Linked DNA regions of Homo sapiens: all the other regions are linked to region 2. Evidence: promoter capture Hi-C in 16 types of primary human blood cells and fetal thymus (Javierre and others, 2016). All regions are on one chromosome and are shown on one strand. Each heading gives the region's core, a stretch centred on a gene start or on the middle of the fragment in contact. The rest is flanking DNA. Distances are from core to core; before and after follow the strand shown.

Region 1 (4,858 bases), core at 1,233-3,732, 830 kb after region 2:
CCCACCTTTTGTGCATTACCTTTTTTTCTCATGATAAAAATAATATATGAAAAATTTAGAAAGTGAAAATGCCTTTAAAGATGTAAATAACAATTTAGGCAACTAGTTTAATAATTCTGGATTATAATTCACTTAGTTTTTCAATTCCTATTATAAATTATAATTTTTAGCTCTCTGGTTATTAAAATTCTGATAACTCTTCCTCTTATACTGGAGCTTTTATATAATATGACTATAAGTTTTCTTAACTACAATATCATGGTAACCCAAGTTTTATTATTATTTTTATTTGAAATGGAGTTTTCTCCACCATAAAAGACAGTGGTCAATTTCTTATATTTTAATCAACTTGCTGATGTTCAGTTGAACTTTAAATACGAATCTGTAAAATACGGATTAATAAACTGAATTTCATCATTTAAAAAAATTCAAAAATAATTTCAATGTGTATCAAGTTGGTTTAAGTAGTAAATGGAGAATTCTCTAGATTAATTATTTATTGCTAAAGTAAATTATTTCCTAGCAAGTGGGCTCAGACAAAAGGAAAAAGGAAAAATAATTTTAAAAAAAATTTTTAAGTAAATCAAATTAAGCAAAATTAAATTACGTTCTAAAATATGCACAAATCATTTAGCAACTACTGATATTTTATACTACTTCTCATTCCTGAAGAAAAAATGTAAACCCTGGTTGCCTCTCATTTAGAGGTAAGATTCTGATGAGTTCAGTGACTTAACCTAAAACATTTAATTAGTGTTAACATTTAATTAACATTTAATGGAGCCAATATACAAACCCTCTGAAGTCTTAGGATTTGGCATCAACAATGGTTATACCCCAAAACAATGTCAAATGACCACGTATCAAATGACCTATGGTAAACAAAAAGTGAGGTTTCTCCTAGCTTTTAGTAATAAAATGATCCCCCTTGAAAAGCAGCCCAAAAGTCCATAACTTCAACATCAAAATTAAGACAAAGTTATCAGTATCCCCATAAAATTATCTTTCTAGAGAGATTCATTGAGAAGTGACATGATTTTCATTATTACCAGTGTCATTTATCTACCAGTCAAAAGTAAATAAATAAAAATGTAATACTTCCATTATTGCCTTTAAAAAAAAAAGTGTTTCCTTGCAATTGTGTAATAGTCAACAGATGTCTGTGGCCACCATTTTATAGTTTTGGGTTTGCAAGGCCAATTTTTCCAACCTATGCATTTACAGTTTAATTACCAGGGTACGGTAGAGAAGACTATGGTCTGTGCAATCCACACTACCATGAGTAAAGGAAGCGATGCATAGCTTGCCTTTGAAGGCATGCATTCTTTCCCATCAAAAATGGAACTCATTAAAATGATACATTACCCTTTGGTTTCACACAGATCAAGTCCAAGATCTGTCACTTAATAGCTGTATGAAAATGAGCAAGTTATTAGGTTCTCTAAGACGTTTTCCTCCCATCTGCAATGTGAAAACAAAAATAATACCTACCTCATGGCATTATTGTGAGGATTTAATGACAACAAATATAAAAGGTTTAAAACAATGCCTGACATTTATTAAGCAAACACCAAATGTGGCCTCATTTTGATGATGATGATGATGATGATGATGACGACAATGACCATGACCACGACAATAATCGAGCCTATACTATCTGAAGTATTTAGAGTCAGATTTTAAGAAATATGCTTACATAGAATTAAGCTTCTTTTTCCCTGATTCAGCTATTTCATGTATTTTTTAAAGTATTTATTTGTGGCCATTTCTAATATCTGAACAGAAGTTAAAAGAATTTAAATTACATAAAGTGTTCCTGCATCCTTTGGTGGTAGGGAAAGGGGACTTTAGGGCATCAAAGATTCTTCCAGGCTATTTCTTTTATGACTTTTTATCTTTTTTCCCCTAATAAAAGAGACTATTAGCTAGGTGGTAACAACTTGTTAAGGTCAATTATTGAATTTGCCTGCCCTCTGTCCCTGTGTAGATAAAAAGCATTTCACAATAGTCTAAACTACTAAACACCCCTTAAACTATTTTTCTACTCTGTAGCTCTGGGGCTAGCCAGCTCTAAATCACTCTGTTTCCCTATACTCATTTCACATTGCTGCTGTAATGAATTATCCCCAATTTAGTGGCTTAAAACAACACAAATATGTTTTCTTATAGTTTTGGAGGTCAAAATTCCAAACTCAGTTTTAGTTAGCTAAAGTCAAAATGCCAATAAGGCTGGTTCCTTCTGGAGGCTTTGAGGGAAGAATGCATTCCTTGCCCTTTTCCAGCTTGCAGTGACCAACTATAGTTCTCTGGCTTGTGGCCCCTTCTTCCATCTTTGAAGCACAACATTCTAATCTCTACTTCTGTCATCATATCACCTGCTCCTCTTCTACCTTACTCTTATCAGGACATTTGTGATTACATCATTGGATTCACTCAGATAATTGAAGATAATCTCCCCATCTCAAGATTCTCAATCACATCTGCAAAACCTCATTTGCTATGTGACGTAACATTTACAGAGTCTGGGGATTATGCTGTAGGCTGCCAGGGGACATGATTTAGCCTATCACGTGGATGTTGGACAATCACTGCAGTATGTGACTTTATAGTTTTATGCTCCAGAAAAAAAAAATTCTGTTTGGTTGGTGTTAAAGATACTTGCATGGAAAAGGCCCACCTATCAAAGTTTGAAGCAGTGAAATAGAATATAACAAGGACGTTTACATTTCTTTTGGCACAAACATTTTCACACCTGTCTACTCAGGCATTTATTGGCCTTACCATTATCTGCTTGACTGCAAAAAAGGTTTTCTGTGTACCTCGCTTTCCCATTAATTAGAAATAAAAGTAACAGATATCTGCAAATGTTGTCAATTTTCATCTGATTAATTTTGAAAGTGTTTTTGTTGCTATTGTCAGCTCTATTATGTATTTTACATTGGTCACTAATAATTTATAGATTTTGGAAATATGCTGGCATACAATATTAAAATACAGATAATTATAATTCTCTAGATAAGGCTTAAAAGTATGTTTTAAATTACTTCCAAATAATTTATACAAAAGGAAATTTAACTTTGAAAGTTCCTTTCCTATCTAGATTAAAAACCTGTGCCATTGAAAGAAAAAAAAAGTTGTAGGTTACAACTATAGAATTGAATTTAGCTATCACCAGACAATTATTCTTTAAAACAATCAACTTAGAGAAAACTTAGTTAACTCTTTGAAAAACTGTCATAAGTGTTATCTTAAGCTTGTCCTCACCAGGATTGAATCATCTCTATCAAAATGTAGAGATTAGGCTTGAGCCTGGGAGGTCAAGACTTCAATGAACCATGATGGTGCCTTTGCACTCCAGCCTGAGTGACAGAGCGAGTGAGACCCTGTCTCAAAATAAAATAGAAAAATGTAGAGATCAGGTGGATGCAACCTAGGTTATCCCATCATAAGTCTTGCTTATTAGTAATACTTTAGTCCATAGATGAGTCAAATTAGCAATCTTGGTTCAAGATTCCCCAACTAGCTTTTACAGCAAAATTAAAATAATTGCTCTTAGGTTAAAAAAAATCTCAACATGCTCTGAAAGCGAATAATTTTAGCAAGTTTTGATGCTGAATTTATATTCCTTGCTTTTTAAAATTTCAGAATCAAAGCCATGTTAGTAGCAAACATTCTGTCATTAGTTGGAGCTCTCTTGATGGGGTTTTCAAAATTGGGACCATCTCATATACTTATAATTGCTGGAAGAAGCATATCAGGACTATATTGTGGTAAGTCACACACACACACACACACACACACACACACACACACACCTACCTTTGTCTGAAAGTAACTCTAAAGGCGGATGTGGTAGCACTCAGGGATATTTTTGAGTCTAGGGTGACATCACAGAGGGAAAGGCAATAGCATAAAGTTGAAATCCTGAGTTGGGAGGTTTGGGACCAGTAAGTAGGAATTATGATGCTATCAAGGTTCTCGTCCATGGCAATGACATCATTTCTAGTTGTATGATCACAGACAAATTATTTAACTCTGACTCTCAGTTGCTTCATTTATTAAATGAAGTGGATAATAATATCTACCTTATAGGGTGATTGTGAGAACATATGTAAAACGTTCCGCATAGAATCTGACATACAGTAAGCTACCAGTAAATGCTAGCCGTTGTTATTACTGCTGTGGTATAGCAGACAGTGGGAGACTGCTATACCACGACCCTTAATTCTGCCCTTATGGACTACCTGGCTGCCATGTCTCCATCTCTTCTATCTGACAAGACCTTAACACTCTGAACCCATCTCTTAGACCACATTCCCCAGCCCTGTATGATTCTAGACATGACCGAGTGAAGCATTACAGTGGTGGTGTCCATAGGGAAAGTGAATCAGAGAGAAGCAGCTGATATTTAAAAGTTCAGAATAAAGGAAGGAGGTTCCTCCCACAAACTTTATTCTGAATAGTGGGAATCGCTAGTTCTTGGAGACAGCTTTTCAAACATTCAGAGGCAACTAATTAGCAGACATCTGAAGAAAGGGAGAATCATTCAATCTCTCTCTAAAACAAATGGCTAAATCTGTAACTTCTGCCAATGAAGCTCTGATTTTGACGGTGCTAGGTTGAGATTTTAACCCATTTTCACAAGACGTAGTTGCCTTTCAAGGCACCTCTATCCATGGGGATGGGGAAGGAGTGGTGAGGACGTAAGATTTGTATATAAAAGTATTTTTAACACTTTTACCTACAGAAAAGACTTGAATTCCATGTATCTTCAATGATCAGTTGAAGCAAAAGACTAAAATATCAAGTTAACAGTCTAATTAAATCTCTTTTTATTATTTTCATTGTTAATAAAAAT
Region 2 (4,443 bases), core at 1,784-4,283:
TAATAAGTGTTATGAGGAAAAAATAGAGCAGGGTATCAGAGATTGGGAACACCAGTTGGGGTCAGGGGATTACAATTTTAAATAGTGTAATGGGAGCAAACCTCCATAAAAAAGTGTTGTTTGATAAAGAATTAATCAAGAATTGAAGGAGACTAGGGAGTGAGCCAAGTTCAGGAAGAGGCTTTAGGCAGAGGGCAGGTAGTGCAAAGGCCCTGAGGCAGAAACACATCATGGCATGTTTGAAAACTGCAAGGAGCCAATGTGATGGGAGAGAAGTGACCTAAGGGAAGAGTGGTAGGAGATGAAGTCCAGGAAGTAACAGGATGGAGAACTCAGCAGGTTACGAGGGAGTAGGATAGGAAAGTGAGGTGGGTGACACAGGATTAAGAACAAAGGGCTTGAACAGAGAGTAGGGCACAAATGAAAGGCATAGTATTAACTAGCATTTGAAGAGGGCTTTAAAATTGGCAAAGCTCTTTATTATACAATCTTTGTTTAAATTGTGTTCCTTCTCACTGTGCATCTTAGGGTTGGACAGTTTTACACGTGGGCTCTTTTTATCTGTAAAATTCCCCATTTTACAGATAAAGGGAATGAGGAACTGGCTGGCTGAGGGTCCTGCTTTTGACCTCCTACCAAGAACATCAAAGTCAGGACTTGAAAACAGGTCCACTTCTCTAAATCCTTTATCTCTGACTCCATTTCCTGATGCTGCCACCTCTGAAATCAAACAGTTACCAATTAACTATGTGCTGGAGACACATCATATCATTTCTCCGGGCCTAACTGGTAAAAATAGATGTTTGGCCTAGAACAATACATTCAATCATCTGTAATCTTAATCAAAATCACCAATATTTGTTTAATGTATTATGTTGCAGTCTGAAAGGATAGGCAAACAGCTGTAACAAAAGAATGTAGGGTTGAACTCTAATCATGATATTGTTAAACTTTGTGAAATCAGAATTTTTAAAAAAATTAAATGAAATAGAAAATATCAGAATATGTTTCACATAGAGGGTAAGTACTATTTTGAGCAACTTTTGTTTTATAGATATATAAACATCTACTATACATGTATATACATAATAGATGTAGATATCTATTTATCTAGAGAGAAGAATGTAGATGTATTTATGTACATTCTGGGTCCTCACCTAAAATATTTTTCTGACTCTGAGTCACCAAAAAAAAGTTTGGAAGCCACTTGAATAAGTGTAACTGCCATCTCTGCATTCCAGTAGAACTTAAACAAATATTTCTTTGAATGAATTGTGGTTTCAGGTAGGTGTTGGAGAAAAGAAGGGAAGATCAAGATTGGGGTGATAGATGCAAAAGAATGTATTGAAAAAGAAAAAAAAACTGAGAAAGAGAAAGATAACCCTGTGGTTTCCTCATTCCATCGACTCTCCCATAATCCCACTGGCTTCCGTCTATCTGCACACATTCATCAAACCCCACTAGACCAAGTTCCTTTAAGATGAAGACCTTGTTGGATCCTTCATTGTAACTCAACGACATAGGGGGCTATTCATAAATATTTATCTAATAAGTAGATTAAAATTTATATTTCCTGAGGTCTAGTTTTTAGGTGGTATCTCAGTTAAAGTTTTAACTTTTTAAAGATTTAAGATACTATCTCACACAACAGTGGCTACATTTTGTTTGTTTGTTTTGAGATGGAGTCTTGCTCTGTCACCCAGGCTGGAGTGCAGTGGTATGATCTCGGCTCACTGCAAACTCTGCCTCCCAGGTTCATGTGATTCTCCTGCCTCAGTCTCCTGAGTAGCTGGGATTACAGGTGCATGCCACCACGCCTAGCTAATTTTTGTATTTTTAGTAGTGACGGGGTTTCGCCATGTTGGTCAGGCTGGTCTCGAACTCCTGACCTCGTGATCCGCTCCCCTTGGCTTCCCAAAGTGCTGGGATTACAAGCGTGAGCCACCATGCCCGGCCAAGTGGCTACATTTTAATAGAAGATTCCTTAAGATCAAAAAGCTTCAATATTGAATTCTCCAGTCTCCAGTAGTGTCAGGCGTCACAGGAATCAATGAGAGAAGGATTTGTTGGACAGGTGGGTCTCTGTAACTTCTCTTAAATCATACCAGCATGGAAGCCAGTTACTCCCAAGACTAGATGTGCCCATTTTTTTTTGGTTGGAGAGCTAAGGGACCAGGCCAATCGTTTATCTGTGCAATGATTCAATGAGCGCACACGGAGTACTACTTAGTGTCGTACGCTGTACTTGGCACATGTACTTTCCTAGTGAATTGTGAAGTCCATCTTGAATTATTGAATTATTTGAATTATTTTCAAATAATTGAAAATTATTGAGTTATTTTCAGTTCAAACAGTTGCTTGCAAGAGAAAGGTGGAAAAACAAATATTTGGGGTTTGTAAATTTTGGGGCCATGTACATCTTAGTGTTTGCAATGAAAGCATTAGTTTGAAAATTATTTTACTTTGTTCTGTATTTTAAAATTACTTTTCAAGGTTTATGTTTTTTTCTAAATTCAAAATTCACATTTCAAAAGATTCTAATTTCTTAGCATATCAAGTTAAGTGGATTAAAATAAAATAACTTTTTAAGAATTTCTTGAGCAGCATGTCATTAAAAATACATAATATACATGTATACATGATAAAACAATATTAAGATCATTTTTATACTTAAAATGCAATTAATAGAAATCAATGTTCCAAGGCGGATTCTGATTTTTTGTGGAATTTTGACTTCTTTGTATTGTTAGAACAATTTAAAAGGATATGTTCTTCTGTTTTCCCTTTCCCTCCCACCTTCTTTTATTTTCTCAATATATTTAATAAACTATTTTCATACCAAAGCTCCATTCCAGATAGGACAAGCAATTCGAACACTCCATCCTGTGAACCAAGGCTTGTAAGAAAAGACAGGAAAGAAAGCAATAACTCCAGAGCATACACTGAGGATCCCCAGAGTAACAAGAATCCGGCCAGCAGCCTGGTAGAGGCCCTTCATTTTCCTTGGTGGCTTGAGGCCTTGGTCTCAAAGATGTTTTGTTACCAAAACATGAGCGTATGACAGGCCTCAGTAAATAGAAGTTTCTTAGAGACAGTAGCCACGACACATACGAACTGTTGATCTACTTGGAAACAAGATTCTATTTGTTTTACCAAAGATGAAATGTACTCAAATAGTCCTTGGCATAAATTTGACACAATAAATTCTAATAACAATTTATTTAAGAGAAAGAGAGAAAAAAATTATCCCTTGCTTTGGATTGCTGCCTTGATTCCCTTCATTCTGCCCTGTCCTGGGGAGTGACCACTTCCTGGCTTAATCAGATTCAAAGGCTTGCTGACTGAGCTAATTGTTTCTCAACTCAACCTGCCTAGTGGTTCCAGCATAAAGCCAACATCCTTTGTGTACAATAGATCCACATTCCCAGCACAATTTCCCACAAAACAAAGTAAAAATAAGCACCCTGGTCACTTTTCATTATATTTAATTTAAATGATTTCAACCCAAAGCAAGACCTTCACCTCCTTTCAAAGTTTAATTCCACTACAATTATTTTTGATAAAGATTTTTGATATGGATTCATTCCCAAATGGGCATGAACTTTATTATGGAGTTTTGCATTGTTTTCACTAAACCAGTTTCACCTTATTTTACTATTAATTTAATTTTCAATTAAAGTGTGATGATGGAAATGTATGCAGTTATAAAATAAAATAAACTTTGAGGAGCAATTCATCAGTTGAATAAAATGCTGATCCCCATTCATTCTTGAATCATAATTCTAATTTGAGATATTGAACTTAGGTACATTTAGGCAGTTACAAGTCATCTCTTACTTTTTCATGCATTTGAGAAAATGGTGTTATTTGATTTTGACTGATTGGATATATGTGGATGTCTGTTCAAAAAAATATCTTAAAAACACAGGTCAGTTTCTGAAGCCATCTGAATAATTTTCCTATTTAACATTAATACATTATTCCTTTTTACTGAAATAAAAGGATGAAAAATAATTTTATGAATGCAAATGAAGTGGTTTAGGACATCGATTTTGAGTCAGATGGAGCTGTGATCCGATTCTGGTTCCACTCTCTACCAGGTTTGTGTCCTTGAGTAAGGGCAAGTTACTTAACTTCTCTAGGTCTATTTATTCGTATGCGAAATGGGAATAAAAGTTAGTGTTTATCTTTAATGGATTTGGTTGAGAGGATTAAATGAGCTAAAACCATAAATGCCTAGCCCAGAGTTTAGCATAACGAAGATGTTCAGAAAGTTACTCTTGTTAAATTGGGATGTTCCACCTTTGGGGTCCTTCCATCGTGGGACAAAGGTGCACTTATTGTGGTTTTTTTTTAAATTCATCACCTTAAAAACATCATGTTTAACTCTTCCTGAACAATTTGGTAAAAACTCCCAAAGGACCCTCCCATATGTGGTGGAAA
Region 3 (4,407 bases), core at 1,689-4,188, 520 kb before region 2:
TCAAGAACTAAATAATGTAGACAAAGCTCTCAATGCTTAGCGCTCCTGTAGGCATGCAATAAATCCAAGTTTCCTGGGAGGGAGGCTGTAAAAACAACAACAACAATAACAAAACAACAACAATAAAAATATAAGTATCCTTTAGAATGTTAAAAACATTTTTGGCTGAACATTGCATTTGTAAATCTCTTGGTCATTTCAAATTTTCTGAGAGGTATATAAATAAACATCATAAATCAGTGCATCATAGTTGCAGAACCTGAGGGGTTTTTGGACATTAAGTAGTTACTCTTAAGGGAAGTTAGTATTTTTCTTATTTTTTTATGAATAGCAGAAACTAAAAATATGAAGGAAAAGAGGCAACATGCCCCAATCATTTACAAGGGACACCTTTTCATAAAGGATTTAATTCACAAATACTCTACAAAGATTTGTTGCCTTAAGGTGAAAAGATATCAGAGATCGTCTTCTAGTTTAACCCCTTTATTTAATGAATTAAGGAAATTTGGAGAGCAATAGTTTAGTTGCTAAAATCGACTCAACTCTTTAATATGATAATTATGAAGCGCAGATATACTAATTTTCATTTTTCTTCTGTTACAAAATATACTTAAGTGTTAAGAAGAACACTTAAACAGCTGGCTAGGACTCCCATAAAACTCAGACATCAGCAGCTTTCTTTTCAAAGGCCCACAATGCCTGTTTATAAAGTGTTCATGGTAACACTTTAAGGCTGCTTCCTTCATAAATATGGACTGGGACTCTTCAGTATTGTAAGCCAGAATAGATGGGAAACAAATGTCCTATTCTGGGGGAAAAATCCTTTCAACATAAAAGTCCAGGTGATCTAGATGAATTTTAGGTTGGGTTGTCTTGAGCCAAGGGTTCGCACAAGATGCTCTTTGGGATCCCTTTTATTTACATGAAATATGCTCAAACTTAAGGAGAAAAAATATCTTTGAGAGCCTGCAGGTAAGAAAGAAAAGTAAAATAACAAGCCTATCTATGGTTCTCACCTTGGCCACAAGCGGGATATATCATTATTTTGGCCACATGCATAAGAAGAACTTACTGGTGGTTAATGAAATTAACACATACGCTAAAGAGTATGTGCTTTAAAACTAGAAGCTCCTCTAGCAACAAGTTCAATGAAAAAGACAGCTGCCCCTTGGGAGGAAGACACTGTTCTTTTCAACTGCAGAAGCCAGGTCCTAAAGAACCTTGAGGAGGCTAGATTGACAAAGGCTATGCTAATAAAAAGTATTATGATGTATCCAACTCAAATTGTTTCTCCTTGATACCCATGTGCCAAGATCCAAAGTTAAAGGCTTGAATTCAAAAGGCCACTCACTACAAGAGTTCAGTTTCAAGACACTGAGGAAGGTCATCTTCAAACTAAAATTAGGCTGTTTTCATTCTATTAAATCTCAGGAAAATTATTCACAAATAGAATGAGAATTTATTATGCTCTATATTCCCATCACTTTAATAACTTTCTGAGAGCACTGACAAATCTAATTTAAAAAGATAAATTTGGACTCTAGCTCCTGTAATTAAGAAAAATACTGTTCCTAATGCGAAGTTTTCTTAAATTGCCATTTAAATTTAGGCAAGTCATTTATTTGATTAGGCAAGCCTTGGGCTTTTTGAGGGGGGAAGAAACAACATGTATTGATTACTAGATTCTGCACTGTTTTTTGTCTGGCATATTTAAATGCCTCATGCCAGGAACCTCATTTGGAAAAGTGCTTGGGGAGCTTTTGTTCTTTGCCCAGGAGCCACCGTGTCATGGAAAACCTTGGATCAGACTACACATTTGTATAGTTCTCCCTATGAGGCACTAGTGGGCTGCTGCCCCACACAGGGCAGGATTGCAGCAAGAGGGGGTGCCCTTGGGGCAGAGCCTTCACTTCCCACATTTCTAAGATGGCAGTGGAGGCAGGGCACGGGGAATTGGGAGGCACTGGCCTTTATCCCAACTCAGCTAGCTACCACTTTCAACAACTTTTCTGTGCTTCACTTTTTTCTAAAACAGCACAACTAGAAGCTATTTTCTAAGGATTTACCACCAATGGAAGCCACAGGTCTGGGAAAAAATGAAAAGACATTTAAAAATTTCCCCCAATGCTAGTTTTTTTATACATGGATTGTGATTTCTGTTAGTTCACAATTGCTGTTCTTGCCAGCCCTCTCCTGTTGAGTTGTCCCTAGCCAGTAAAATAAAAAGCCCATGAAAACACATCCGAAGGCACATATAGCACAATAAGATGAATGCTCTTGTGTATCAGTGGATATGAATTTAATCTTTCATGAACCTATCAAAAGAAGCTTTACCTCCCCTGTGTTCTCTTCACTAGAACTAATTTCCAAGAGGATAATCACGTTTTGTTCTGTCATAAAAATTACCAGGTTTGCCAGGTCCTCCAAAGTCAAGCTCAAATGTCACCTCTTTCAAGAAATCTTTCCTGATCTTTTAAACCAGATGGTCTCTGCCTCCTTCAAACTCCCAAAGCAATTTTTTCCTCTGACACTAATGTTCTATGGCCATTTTAAAAATTGATACTATGCTTCTAGAGGTAGGGTCTTATGTGATTTCTAATCTTGGTCTCCACTGAAGGCCCACAGGACTCCACTGTACTGAAATCCATCAAAGTGCTTGACTGCAGAGTAGGGGGTGGAGACTGGGACAGGGTTTTCCGTGTAACTAGAATGGGTTCCATACGTGAAGGAACAGAATAGTATCATGCATAAAAGGAAATAACAGAAATGCTTCTATCCTGACACTGGTTTTGTGTGTCAGTAGGTAAGCAGGGAAGTAGCATTTTGGTTGTTTTGGTTTTATGGTGATCTCCCATTCCCTTTACCTGATTGTCTGATTAGGACTTTTGGTAACAGAACATTCTGTCACCATTAACTTTTGCTTGACATTGGATTATTTCTAAATACAGTTTGGCTGTCTTCTGATCGGACATTTTCAGAGGAAATGAAGTTAGGTTAAACAAATACTACGTGAAAGGCTACATTTGATTTTGACAGCCAAGAATGTTTCCTGGGTATGGAGTTTTATGAAGAATCTCCTATTTGCTCTGGTTAATTTGATATTGCATTGCCCATAGTTACAGAGTACAGTCCCCATCTGTACATCACCCACAGCTATTTCACATTGGTAAACATGTTTGTCCTGATGGTTACTGAATATTTAAAGAGGTAACATCTCTTCCTGGGTCTTATTTCCCTCTGCACTCATGACTAATATAATGCTATTACATAGTGTGAACTTGAATTTGACAATTTTCTTTAGATACTTTCTCTCCATTATCTGGCTTGATGAAAGGAAAAAAAAGTGCATATTATGCTATGTAGGGAAATCAGGATCTTTAGAATGTTTAGAAATTCCAAATAGAGAATAAAAGGAACGACTCCGGGTATAAAACGCAGGGCTCAAGTCAAAGGAAGCCTCTGAACAAGAAGGAAGAGGGTCTTAGTGCAAGCAAATAAAAATGTACAATTGAGATTTCATCCCACAAGCCAAAGCTACAGAAGCTTCAGGAGCATCCTCACCCCCACCTCACCTCTTGTTTCTGTCCTCCAGCTGTAGTGTGTACACAATGTCCTCAGCAGCATGTGTCTTGGAGTTACTGTCTCCCCATTTTAGCTTCAGGCTCTGAGGACCAGCAGCAGCACATTCTAGCCTAGGAGGCAAGGGTGGTAATGGCCGAGTTTTTGCTTTAATGAACTGACTAAATGGTCCAGCTCCAATTTCATTTATAGCCTGAATTCTGATCCTAGAGAAAGGAAAAAAAAAATACAGACAATGCAGGTTAAAGCAGCAGCAATTCTTCATTCGAAATAAACATTGAGCATAGTATTTATTACTTGTCCCTAAAGCAATAACATAGAATGAAGAAAAACAAGTTAAAGTAACTCAAGACAAATAGAAGCACGGGGTTGCTCAGTGGACAGACTATAGTCTCCATTTAAAAAAAAAATAGCAAAAAAGCACGGTAGCAAGATATCTCTTAGTTCTTTAATTTAAAAAAAATAGGTTTGTTGTCTCAGGGAAGATATCTTAAAGATACGCTTTTATATTTTGTCCTAGCTACCGTTTAGCTACCTCATGGTCAGTTTTGGAAGTAGGTGAGCTATCAAGAGTAAATGAAATGGGGGAACAAATGAGTCTCCTTCAGAGTCAAAAACACAGGACAACTCATCAACAGGACATTTCATGTCTCCCTTTTGCCAGCCTCATCCAACAATCTCTGCAAGTCCTTATCTAGAGCTAAGCATGCAGATATTGTTAGTAATGGGATGGCATCCAGATGTGCAAAAATCTTAGCTGGATGTTTGCTATGTGTAGCACAGAGTTATGGATAAGAAACATATTACCTTAATCATCCATGAATTTAA

The links. The method cuts DNA at HindIII sites, captures the fragments that hold promoters and counts their contacts. A CHiCAGO score of 5 or more calls a contact.
Region 1: a fragment that was not itself captured here is called in contact with the fragment with the promoter of TMEM212 in region 2 in 1 of 17 cell types (fetal thymus); the score reaches 5.1 in fetal thymus.
Region 3: a fragment that was not itself captured here is called in contact with the fragment with the promoter of TMEM212 in region 2 in 1 of 17 cell types (neutrophils); the score reaches 5.2 in neutrophils.

Annotation. Positions count from the first base shown.
Region 1 is chr3:171,008,870-171,013,727 of GRCh38, reverse strand. It overlaps SLC2A2 (solute carrier family 2 member 2), which reads left to right. Exons shown (of 11, transcript NM_000340.2): 4 at 3,646-3,770. Among named protein-coding and RNA genes, the nearest start is that of SLC2A2, 15 kb to the left of the region's middle. The HindIII fragment of the contact is 1,546 bases long and covers 1,710-3,255 here.
Region 2 is chr3:171,841,939-171,846,381 of GRCh38, reverse strand. TMEM212 (transmembrane protein 212) reads right to left here and starts at 3,033. Exons shown (of 5, transcript NM_001164436.2): 1 at 2,840-3,033. The coding sequence starts at 2,998. The HindIII fragment of the contact is 2,451 bases long and covers 2,001-4,443 here.
Region 3 is chr3:172,362,011-172,366,417 of GRCh38, reverse strand. FNDC3B (fibronectin type III domain containing 3B) reads right to left here. Exons shown (of 26, transcript NM_022763.4): 23 at 3,573-3,785. Among named protein-coding and RNA genes, the nearest start is that of GHSR, 84 kb to the left of the region's middle. The HindIII fragment of the contact is 1,215 bases long and covers 2,331-3,545 here.